Linked DNA regions of Homo sapiens: all the other regions are linked to region 4. Evidence: promoter capture Hi-C in 16 types of primary human blood cells and fetal thymus (Javierre and others, 2016). All regions are on one chromosome and are shown on one strand. The core of a region is centred on a gene start or on the middle of the fragment in contact, and the rest is flanking DNA. Distances in the headings are between cores, read along the strand shown. Region 1 overlaps TOGARAM1 (TOG array regulator of axonemal microtubules 1). Region 2 has its middle 3.5 kb from the start of PRPF39-DT. Region 3 overlaps KLHL28 (kelch like family member 28). Region 4 holds the start of TRAPPC6B (trafficking protein particle complex subunit 6B).

Evidence for each region. The method cuts DNA at HindIII sites, captures the fragments that hold promoters and counts their contacts. A CHiCAGO score of 5 or more calls a contact.
Region 1: a fragment that was not itself captured here is called in contact with the fragment with the promoter of TRAPPC6B in region 4 in 4 of 17 cell types (M0 macrophages, non-activated CD4 T cells, total B cells and 1 more); the score reaches 12.7 in M0 macrophages.
Region 2: a contact is called between a fragment that was not itself captured here and the fragment with the promoter of TRAPPC6B in region 4, in 1 of 17 cell types (non-activated CD4 T cells). The highest score is 5.0, in non-activated CD4 T cells.
Region 3: a fragment that was not itself captured here is called in contact with the fragment with the promoter of TRAPPC6B in region 4 in 7 of 17 cell types (total CD8 T cells, non-activated CD4 T cells, total B cells and 4 more); the score reaches 13.1 in total CD8 T cells.

The regions. Positions count from the first base shown.
Region 1 is chr14:44,969,337-44,972,255 of GRCh38, reverse strand. All of the region lies in intron 1 of TOGARAM1 (TOG array regulator of axonemal microtubules 1), which reads right to left. Among named protein-coding and RNA genes, the nearest start is that of TOGARAM1, 8.6 kb to the right of the region's middle. The HindIII fragment of the contact is 1,063 bases long and covers 797-1,859 here.
Region 2 is chr14:45,079,185-45,081,884 of GRCh38, reverse strand. No RefSeq gene overlaps it. Among named protein-coding and RNA genes, the nearest start is that of PRPF39-DT, 3.5 kb to the left of the region's middle. The HindIII fragment of the contact is 1,940 bases long and covers 462-2,401 here.
Region 3 is chr14:44,950,399-44,953,337 of GRCh38, reverse strand. All of the region lies in intron 1 of KLHL28 (kelch like family member 28), which reads left to right. Among named protein-coding and RNA genes, the nearest start is that of KLHL28, 10 kb to the left of the region's middle. The HindIII fragment of the contact is 2,216 bases long and covers 298-2,513 here.
Region 4 is chr14:39,169,043-39,171,742 of GRCh38, reverse strand. TRAPPC6B (trafficking protein particle complex subunit 6B) reads left to right here and starts at 1,410. Exons shown (of 6, transcript NM_001079537.2): 1 at 1,410-1,728. The coding sequence starts at 1,648. RefSeq lists enhancers at 183-772, 1,554-1,603, 1,363-1,952. The HindIII fragment of the contact is 6,900 bases long and covers 1-1,629 here.

The DNA.
Region 1 (2,919 bases), core at 79-2,578, 5.8 Mb before region 4:
ATTTAAAAGAATAGAAATCATACAATATTTGCTCTCAGGCCAAATTAAGATGGTGATATGGTTTGGGTTTGTATCCTGTCCCAAATCTCATTTCAAATTGTAATCCTCAATGTTGAAAGAGGGGTTGCTGGGGGATGACTGGATCATGGGGTTGGATATCCCCTTTCCTGTTCTCATAATAGTGAGTTATCAAGAGATCTGGTTGTTTAAAAGTGTGTAGCATCTCCTCCTGCCCTCTCTTCCTCCTTCTCCGGCCATGTAAGACGTGACTCCTTCCTCTTCACTTTCTGCCATAATTGTAAATTTCCGAGGTCTACCCAGCCATGAGGAACTATGAGTCAATGAAGTCTCTTTTCTTTATAAATTACCTTGTCTCAGTTCTTTACAGCAATGTGAGAACAGAATACAGATGGAAAACCCCAACATACTTGTAGACTAAATACACTTCTAAGTTACATACAAGTCAAAGAAATCTCAAGTGAAATTTTTAAATATTTTGAAATAAATGAAAATACAATGTATCAAGATTTGCGGTATGCAGTGAAAGCGGTGCCTAGAGGAAATTTATGGCACTGAAGGCATATATTAGAAAAGAAGAAAGATCTAAAATCGATCATCTAAGTGCACATCCTAGGAAACTAACAAAGGAAGAGCAAATTAAATCCAAAGTGAGCAGGAGAAAAATAAAAAATAAAAAATTTGCATAGAAATCAGTGAAACTGAAAAAAGGAAATCAACAGAAAATCAACAAAAACAAACTCGGGTTCTTGGAAAAGATCAATAAAATTGATAAGCTTCTGGTCAGGCTAAGAAAAACAGAGAAACAAATTACTAATATCAGAAATGAAAGACAGACTATCACTACAAATCACATAAACATTAAAAGGATAATAAAGGAATACTATTAACAACTCTATGCTTATAAATTGGGTAACCTAGATAAAATGGATCAATTCCTTGAAAGACACAATGTGTAAAAACACACACAAGAAGATATGGATAATCTGACTAGGCCTGTATCTGTAAAGAAACTGAATAATTAATAACCTTCCAAAACAGAAAGCACCAGAGTCAGATGGGTTTACTGGTGGATTCCACTGAACATTTAAAGAAAAAATTATACCAATTCTCTGCAATTACCTTCAGAATATAGAAGCAGGGAGAATACTTTCTGACTCATTCTAAAAGGCCAGCACTACCCTAATACCAAAACCAGCAAAGACCTTATAAGAAAAAAAACAAAAACAAAACAAAACAAAAACCCCACAGACCAATATCACCTATGAACAAACATGTGAAAATCCTCAACAAAATATTAGTAAATTGAATCCAACAATATACAAAATGAATAACACACCACAACCAAGTGGAATTTATCCCAGGTATGCAAGGCTGGCTCAACATTTGAAAATCAATTAATATAACCCATCACATCATCAGGTTTAAGAAGAAAAATCACATAATTATATCAATAGATGCAAAAAAGCATTAGACAAAATCTAATATCCATATATGATGAAAACTCTCAGCAAACTAGGAATACAGGGGGAACTTTCTCAACTTTATAGCGAACACTACAAGAAAGCATACAGATAACATCATATTTATGAGAAACTCAAAACTTTCCCACTAAGATTAGAAACAAGGCAAGGATGTCCTCTCTCATCACTGCTTTTCAATATCATATTGGAAGTTCAAACTAATGCAATAAGACAAGAAAAGGAATAAAAAGTATACAGATTGGGAAGAAATAAAATTGTCTTTGTTCACAGATGACATGATTGTCTGCATAGAAAGTCTCAAAGAATTAACAAAAAAAATCCTCCTGCGAATAATAAATGATTATATTATAGCAAGCTTGCAGGACACAAAGTTAATGTGCAAAAGTCAAGCATTTTCCTCTATACCAGCAATGAACAAGTGGAATTTGAAATTTAAAAAAAATTACCATTTACATTAACATACAGAAGTAGGATATTTCAATCTAAATTTAGCAAAATATGTACAGTATCTATATGAGGAAAGTATAGAACTCCAATGCAAGATATCAAAGAAGAGCTAAATAAATGAAGAGATAATCCATGTTTGTGGATAGGAAGACTCAATATTGTCAAGCTGTTAGTTTTTCTCAACTTGATCTATAGATTCAATGCAATCCCAATCAAACTCTCAGCAACTTATTTTTTGGACATCAACAAACTGATTCTAAAGTTTATACAGAGAGGCAAAAAACCCAGAAGAGTGAACTCAACATGGAAGGAAAACAACAAAGTCAGAAGACTGACACTACGGAACTTCAAGATTTACTATAAAGCTACAGTAATCAAGACAATGTGTTATGGGCAAAAATAGGCACACTAATGGAGCAGAGTAAAGAGCCCAGAAAAAGACCCACATGAATACAGTCAGCTGATCTTTGACAAAGAAGTAAAGGCAATGGAGTAAAGACAGTGTTGTCAACAAATGGTGCTGCAACAACTGAACATGCACATGTAAAAAAAAATGAATCTAGAAACAGACCTGACACCCTTCATAAAAATTAACTCCAAATGGATCATAGACTTAAATGTAAATTGTAAAACTATAAAATGCCTAGAAGATAACATAGGAGAAAACCTAGATGACCTTGGGTATGGTGATGACTTTTTAGATATGATACCAAAGGCATGATCCATGCAAGAAAAAACTGATTAACTGGACTTTATTAAAACTTTAAAACTTCTGCTCTGAGAAAGTTAATGTCAAGAGAATGAGAAGACAAGACACAAAGTGGGAGAAAATATTTTCAAAAGATACATCTGATAGGCCAGGCGTGGTAGCTTGCACCTGTAATCCCAGCACTTTAGGAGGCCAAGGTGGGCAATCGCTTGAGTCCGGGAGTTCAAGACCAGCCTGGCCAACATGGTGAAATCCCGTCTC
Region 2 (2,700 bases), core at 182-2,681, 5.9 Mb before region 4:
GGGAGGCAGAGGTTGGAGTGAGCCAAGATGGTGCCACTGCACTCCAGCCTGGGAGACAGAGTGAGACTCCATCTCAAAACAAAAACAAAAGACAAAAAAAAAAAAAATTGATTTACCCTTAGTTGACTTTTTTAAAATTGTGTATCACAATTATAAACTTTGGGAAGAAAAAAGATATTATACCAAATAATGTAGTTTAGAGGGTAGTGGTGTGTCCAGAATTGGTGGGTTCTTGGTCTCACTGACTTCAAGAATGAAGCCGCGGACCCTCGCGGTGAGTGTTGCAGCTCTTAAGGTGGCGTGTCTGGACTTGTTCATTCCTCCCGGTGGGCCCGTGGTCTCGCTGGCTTCAGGAGTGAGGCTGCACACCTTTGCAGTGAGTATTACAGCTCATAAAAGCAGTGTGGACCCAAAGAGTGAGCAGTAGCAAGATTTATTGCAAAGAGCAAAAGAACAAAGCTTCCACAGTGTGGAAGGGGACCCAATCAGGTTGCCACTACTGGCCCAGGCGACCTGCTTTTTATTCTCTTATCTGGCCACACCCACATCCTGCTGATTGGTAGAGCCAAGTGGTCTGTTTTGACAGGGCACTTATTGGTGTGTTTACAATCCCTGAGCTAGACACAAAGGTTCTCCACCTCCCCACTAGATTAGCGAGATACAGAGTGTGGACACAAAGGTTCTTCTCCAAGTCCCCACCAGAGTAGCTAGATACAGAGTGTCGACTGGTGCATTCACAAACCCTGAGTTAGACACAGGGTGCTGATTGGTGTGTTTACAAACCTTGAGCTAGATACAGAGTGCCGATTGGTGTATTTACAATCCCTGAGCTAGACATAAAGGTTCTCCAAGGCCCCACCAGAGTAGCTAGATACAGAGTGTCGATTGGTGCATTCACAAACCCTGAGCTAGACACAGAGTGCTGATTGGTGTATTTACAATCCCTGAGCTAGACATAAAGGTTCTCCAAGTTCCCACCAGACTCAGGAGCCCAGCTGGCTTCACCCAGTGGATCCCGCTCTGGGGCTGCAGGTGGAGCTGCCCGCCAGTCCCGCGCCCTGCGCCCGCACTCCTCAGCCGACGGGTGGTCGATGGGACTGGGCGCCGTGGAGCAGGGGGCGTCGCTCATCTGGGAGGCTCGGCCGCACAGGAGCCCAGGAAGGGGGTGGGAGGCTCAGGCATGGCGGGCTGCAGGTCCTGAGCCCTGCCCCGAGGGAAGGCAGCTAAGGCCCGGCGAGAAATCGAGCGCAGCGCCGGTGGGCTGGCACTGCTGGGGAACCCAGTACACCCTCCGCAGCCGCTGGCCCAGGTGCTAAGCCCCTCATTGCCCGGGGCCGGCAGGGCCGGTCGGCTGCTCCGAGTGCGGGGCCCGCCAAGCCCACGCCCACCCGGAACTCCAGCTGGCCCGCAAGCGCCGGGCGCAGCCCCGCTTCCCGCTGGCTCCTCTCCCTCTGCACCTCCCTGCAAGCTGAGAGAGCCGGCTCCGGCCTTGGCCAGTCCAGAAAGGGGCTCCCACAGTGCAGCGGTGGGCTGAAGGGCTCCTCAAGTGCCGCCAAAGTGGGAGCCCAGGCAGAGGAGGCGCCGAGAGCGAGCGAGGGCTGTGAGGACTGCCAGCACGCTGTCACCTCTCAGTGGGTTCTAAAAAACAATATTTAAAGTCATGTGATCTCAGAAACAGAACAAAGAAGTCAGACAAATGGGAAATGATATTATTTATTAATGCAGTTCTTCCATTTGCCCCTCCAGATCAACAGATCATCCACCCTGCTCCATTATTTGGAGATTGACCCTTATAGACCGTATCAATAGGTTCTCTTGCTTCCTGGTTTCTGGTTGAGTATGGCCAAGAAAAAGTCCTGGCAGAGTGGAATTGAGGAGTGAGGTCAGGGTATTTATTCCTCCAGCTCCCTCCATGTGGGTGATCTCAGCTCTGATGAAGGTAACCCTCTCAATATAACTTCATTCTAGGTTCCAGGTTTCCCTAAGCCATGCCTTTATAAATACTCCCTTATTAACCACTTCCCAAATTATGCCGATTTTGATTTGCTGTCTATTTCCTTCTGGGTCCTGATTGATATAAGAGCAAAATGTATCTTGTGATACCCAGTGTTAATCACAATTTCTGAGCTGTTCAGTATGATTCCTGTTTATTCTCTTCAAAACGTTAACATGCCATGAAAAAGTGCGTAAAATACTTTGTGGATCATTTAATTTACAGAATATATTGCTCTAGGGAATGAACTTTGTTTACATTATAAATAATCCATCACTAAATAAATTGTGGTGACTCTTCTGTTGGAAACATTCAGACTCCTGTATTTAGTGTTTCTCCTTACTGGTAAAGCAAGTAAAGTTAAAACTGTAGCTCCAGGAGATTTAAATCCAAACACAACATGAAGCTTGTTTCCTCTTTACTATTTGGTCTTTCATATTTAGTTCAAATGGTATTAATATCTCCTCAATTCAGTCTTCCTGAGAGTTATCATTGTTACTCCTGTTTCCGGATAACCTTAAAGAAGAGCGCCATAGTAATACCACTCTGCACATTCCTCTTATTCCCTCAGAGACTTATGGCTACTTATTAGGGTAACTTCACACCAGGAAACAGAAAACATGCTGGCTTCTTGGAATTTATTAAACATTGGACCTGAATTAATACCAATTCCTGGGGCATAGAATGCCACTGTGTTTCATCAGAGT
Region 3 (2,939 bases), core at 156-2,655, 5.8 Mb before region 4:
AATTACATTTTTCATATATATACCTCTGATTCATTTGTAATTTATCCTGTTGGTGTAGGTATGTAGCAGAAATCTAGTTTTACCTGTTTCCATATGGCTATTCCGTTATCTCAACACATTTATTTAAACGTTTCTCTTTTCCCTCGCAGAGATTCCACCTTTATCATATACTAAACCTGCATATCTAAATGATCTACTTTTATATTTTCTGTTCTCCATTGATCTATTTTTCCTTACATACGTCTCATTTAATCCTGTTAATCCACAACAAATTTTACAAATGAGAATGTTTAAGCTTAGAATAAGTAATTTGCCCAAGTATCAAATAGCCCAGCTATTAAGTAGCAAAATGTAGACTTAAATCCAAATCTGTCCGACTCTAAAATTAATGCTTTTACTCCCTGTTCTTTCCTGTGTTTGTTTTTTTTTTTTTTATGGTACTTACCCTTCCTTTTACGCAAAGTGGTTACTGAGGTAAATGAAACTGCCAGTGTAAAACTGTTTGACAAATGTGGGGCTTTGAGGATTAGAAAGTATTACTTCTTTGAATTACTTTTTTTAGCCATTTATGGGTAGATAGCTGAGAACCAAATATAGTCACAGTTGCCATGTATAATTTTGAAGGCATTATAGTTTTTGAGCCAAACGCAGTGGTGGACACCTGTAGTCCCAGCTACTGATGAGGCTGAGGCAAGTAGGTCACTTGAGCCTAGGAGTTTGAGGTTGCATTGTGCCATGATCATGCCTTTGAGTGGCCATTGCACTCCAGCCTGGGCAACATAGTGAGATCCTGTCTCTAAAAAACTTTCATTTTAAATATTTCTTAAAAATAATTTTCAGTAATTTTTAAGCTGCTAAACTTGAGCTATAAATATTTTAACTGGTTCTGGAACTTTTGCCTAAGAATAACCTGGAGGACTTAAAACACAGTTTGCCCATTTCCTGCAACCCCACTGCCCTATGTAGTTTCTGATTGCTTACAACTGTGATGGGGCTCAAGAATTTACATTTCTAGCAGGTTCCCAAATGTTGCTAATGCTGTTGGTACAAGGATCAGATTTGAAAACCACTGTTTTAAAAACTCTATATTTGAAAATGTTAGAATTCTGTGCATTTTTCTAAAGTCATATTTTTTGAGAGAGGAAAGGGGCCAAATTAAAAATTTTAAGATTTAATTTGGTCATGCTCAGTGGCTCACACCTGTAATCCCAACACTTTAGGAGTCCAGGGTGGGTGATCGTTTGAGTCCAGGAGTTCGAGACTAGCCTAGGCAACATGGTGAAACTCCTTCTCTACAAAAAAAATACAAAAACTAGTCGGGCGTGGTGATGTGTGCCTGTAGCCCCAGCTACTTGGGAGGCTGAAGTGGGAGAATCACCTGAGCCCAGGAGGTCAAGGCTGCAGTGAGTAAGCTAAGATCTCGCCACCACACCCTGGCCAGGGCAACAGGAATGAGAACCTGTCTGAAAAACAAAAACAAAAACAAAACAAAAAAATTATGTTATGGAAAACTGCTAGTGTAATTCATTTTAAGTTCCCTATTTTTACCTTGCCTTGTTGAAGTTGCTAGTTGACACTGTTTTGATTAAGCATTCAAACTATAATTTTTAAAATTAAACTTTATTCTCAGTAGTTCTTACAAGGAATGAAAGTATATCATTTGCATCTAATACAATTATAAAAATATGCTAGGCTTTCTTTTATGAAGTTACTTTTACCAGTGCCTTTTCTTTGGCCCATTTTAAACACTTTGATAATTTCTATTATTATGGAGTAAAATGAACCATGCTGGTTCAAATGAATAGAATGTCTTACTTACTAGTTGGAATGGTCAGAAAATATTTAAAAGGTTTTAACAACATAGATCTAGGAAAGTGAGATAAAGCAGTATTATAGGGGCATAAGTATAGGGGAACAACTTTGTCATGGTACTCTGGTCACCTTGCATGTATCCATGTAGGCAAAGACTTGGACCTCAGGACTGCAGCTTATCCGTGGCTTGACACACCTTGTGATTCTCCTGGAATATGAGAGAGTGAGAGGCCTCTAAGGAGCTGCTATGAGGTCATCTCCCAATTTTCCACTCACCTCTCTATTTCCCCTACAAGTGTGTCATGAGACAGTTTCTCTTCACTTCCCTGGTTGTGATTAGGTGTTAGACTTTTGACCCCATCCCACACCCTTAGAATAGAGCTACAGAATAGAAAACTGCTTAGCCATAGTTTTCATGGGGCCAGCCCCTTTTTTGTGTTACCATTTTTGATGTGCGGGACAAGGATCCAGGCAGTTTACTCTTTGGCTAATCTTCTTTTCAATCTGTAAGTAATAAACTATCTAAATCTAATAAGCCATCTATATTTTAAAATGGCTCATATGTCTCTTTACTGATAGAATTAGTGAGGCTTTGGCCTGGCTTTGGTAGGTATTTGTTCCCTGGACAGTAAGCAAACTTCCTTCCTTTTTTGGTATGCATGGAAAGGCATTTCATGGATATAGTTGGCAATAACCAAGCTTTTTAAAGGTTGATGAACAGTAAAAATAAATAACGTCTACCAATTACTGAGTGCTTATGTACCAGCACATAGAAAGGCATATTTACAACTGCTTTTTATACAATTTTGTCTATTTTTTTACAAATGAGAAAACTGAAACTTTTGACTGAATTTCCCAAGGTCACATAATACAGACCATTGTATTGTAACCCGGGAAGCCTGGTACCAAAGCCCAGTCTCTTAAAACTATACTGCATATCATACAAATATATGCATGTGTGTATATTTATGTGTTGTGTGTGTACATACATGTATGTGTGTATTTACAGACCTATGTTGTGTCATTTTTGCGTGTCATATGTTGATGGTGTACCAGTTTTGAATTGGGTACACAAAAATTAGGTTAACAATATAGGATCTATCACTATGTGATTCCTAATTATATTA
Region 4 (2,700 bases), core at 161-2,660:
TTTTTTGAGACGAAGTCTTGCTCTGTCGCCCAGGCTGGAGTGCAGTGGCACAATTTCTGCTCGCTGCAACCTCTGCCTCCCAGGTTCAAGTGATTCTCCTGCCTCAGCCCCCCGAGTAGCTGGGATTACAGGCACCTGTCACCACGCCCGGCTAATTTTTGTATTTTTAGTGGAGACGGGTTTTCACCATGTTGGCCAGGCTGCTCTCAAAACTCATGACCTCGTGATCCCCCCCACCCCCCGTGCCTCGGCCTCCCAAAGTGCTGGATTTTACAGGCATGAGCCACCTTGCGGTATGTTAATTTGGGGGAAAACAACAGGGACAATTGGGGAAAAATTTTGTTTTGTGAATTACCAATGGAAGAACTAATCACAGGCTAAGCAACATGCTTACGGTTGAATTTGCCAAATTTAAGATGTACATACTATGATGTAGCATGTGTATTTATTTGCACATGCAGTGGGACAATTCCTACAGTTGTCTCACACTGCTGTAGATTATTAGCAACTCCATCCTGCAGTGACATCGCTTTTCTGAATTCTATAGCACTTTTCACCTAATCCTCTGATTAGTCTGTATTTTCCGGTTCAAGTGTATCTTGTTTTTCGTTTGCTCCACTTCCCTTGTCCCTTGCACCCCACTAACAGGAAAATTCCTGGTGGTCAAAATGGCTCTAATTCTTTTTGTATACCCGGGCTTAATTCAATAGGAATTGGGATAACTTTTCAATATTTAAAAAATTTGCACTGTGAAAACGTATATTTTAAACTCTTTCTACAACTTTTCATATTTGAAGAACATATGGCAGGAAGTGGATGCTTTTGATGAAGCCAAAAGAATTTTTTTAACTTCTATTGCTAATTAACAAGGAGGTGGCCGCGGGAGCTCTTTTTTTTTTTTTTTTTTTGAGACGGAGTTTCACTCTTGTTGCCCAGGCTGGAGTGCAGTGGCGCGATCTCAGCTCACCGCAACCTCCGCCTCCCGAGTTCAAGCGATTCTCCTGCCTCAGACTCCCGAGTAGCTGGGATTACAGGCATGCACCACCAGGCCCCGCTAATTTTGTACTTATAGTAGAGACGGGGTTTCTCAGGCTGGTTCGAACTTCCGACCTCATGTGATCCACCCGCCTCCGCCACCCAAAGTGCTGGGATTACAGGCGTGAGCCACCGCGCCCGGGCCAGGCGGGAGCTTTAGGTCTTATTTTATCTTGCTCTGCCCCCGACATCGTGGTGAGAGGGGAACCTTCCTCATATCTGGGCGCTGGCCTCTCCGGGCTTGGGAGAGAGGAACTCAGTGATCATAGAGCTGGCCGAATGCCGGGGTAGAGGGGACCGGAAGTTGTTTTTTTCGCCCCCGCCCAGCGGCCGGATCGCATCTCAGCTGGTTGGCTTTGGTTAGAGCTCCCGTCAGACTTTAGTTCGGCCCTAGGATTTGGTAGCCCCGAAGTGTGGGCTCTCTCCAGTACCAGACTCATTTCAGTACCAGCCTTTGGGAAGTCGTGTGAATACCTCGGTCTCTTAGCCACAGGGATAGAATGGCGGCCTGACGGAGCCGCGGCGCCGGCGAAGTCGCTGAGGCGCGAGCTGGAACCCCCAGACCAGCTCAAACGGGAGCCAAAACTCGAAGCTTGGAAGAATTAGCAGGAAATGGCGGATGAGGCGTTGTTTTTGCTTCTCCATAACGAGATGGTGTCTGGAGTGTACAAGTCCGCGGAGCAGGGGGAGGTGGTGAGTGCTGCCACACAACCTTGAGGTCCTTTTGCGGTGACACACCTTGTTTCCCCTCAGTGCTTTCCTTCAACCCCTGTCCCATCGCCACCCGACGCCTCCCGAGGTGTACACAAAATGGTCCACCTCCAGGTGTCCTAAACCCTAGAACCTGTCAGTTGTCTCCTTTGAACCGTCATCTTTCATCGTTTTCTCTTTCGTATCTTCTTCTATTTGATTCTCTTTTGTCTATTCCCGTACGTTTGTCTTGCACGCCACAGATTTTGGTACTTTTAGTGTTGTCCCTGCCATTATTTACGAGAGGGTTAACTGCAGAGCCTACTTAGTTTTGCTGGCACTTCCAGCACTTGAGCCATGCACTGGACAGACCTGTGCCAACCTGAGAAGCCTGTCCCTCCTTCCTCATTCCTAATGCTCAGTACAACTCCACACAACTTGAGACCTGAAGCCTAATGAAGGTTGAGTTTGCAAAGGAAAGTTTGCAGGCGTTAGGATAATTAGGGAACATAATTTAAATTAATTATTTCAGAAAGTATTTATTTAGTGCCCTTATGTCAGAGCGATTTCTAGGTGCCAGGGATATAGTAGTGAATGAAACAATGGCCCCATCCTTGTAGAGATTTTTTTTTAATCTAATTTAATCCGAAATGTGATAGTATGTAGCGGTTACTTCTAATATGTGGGAGTCCTTATTCAATCATTGTGGGCCTGTCACTGCTGACACTGCTAGATAAATTAAATAAAATAATACTCCTGCCTCACAGTATTTAGGGAATAGTGATTTAATGAATAGTTAACACTGAGTATTGGCTGGTAGAATCATGGAGTTGTAACGGATTTTAGAAATACTCCAAAGTCATGCTCAAGTCAGGAGCCCTTTCTTTAATGCTATTGATAAAAAATGAGTGGAGAGTGGGGATAGGAAATGTATCCTAGGCAAAGATAAAGTGGTAGAGGTATGAAAGAGTGGTG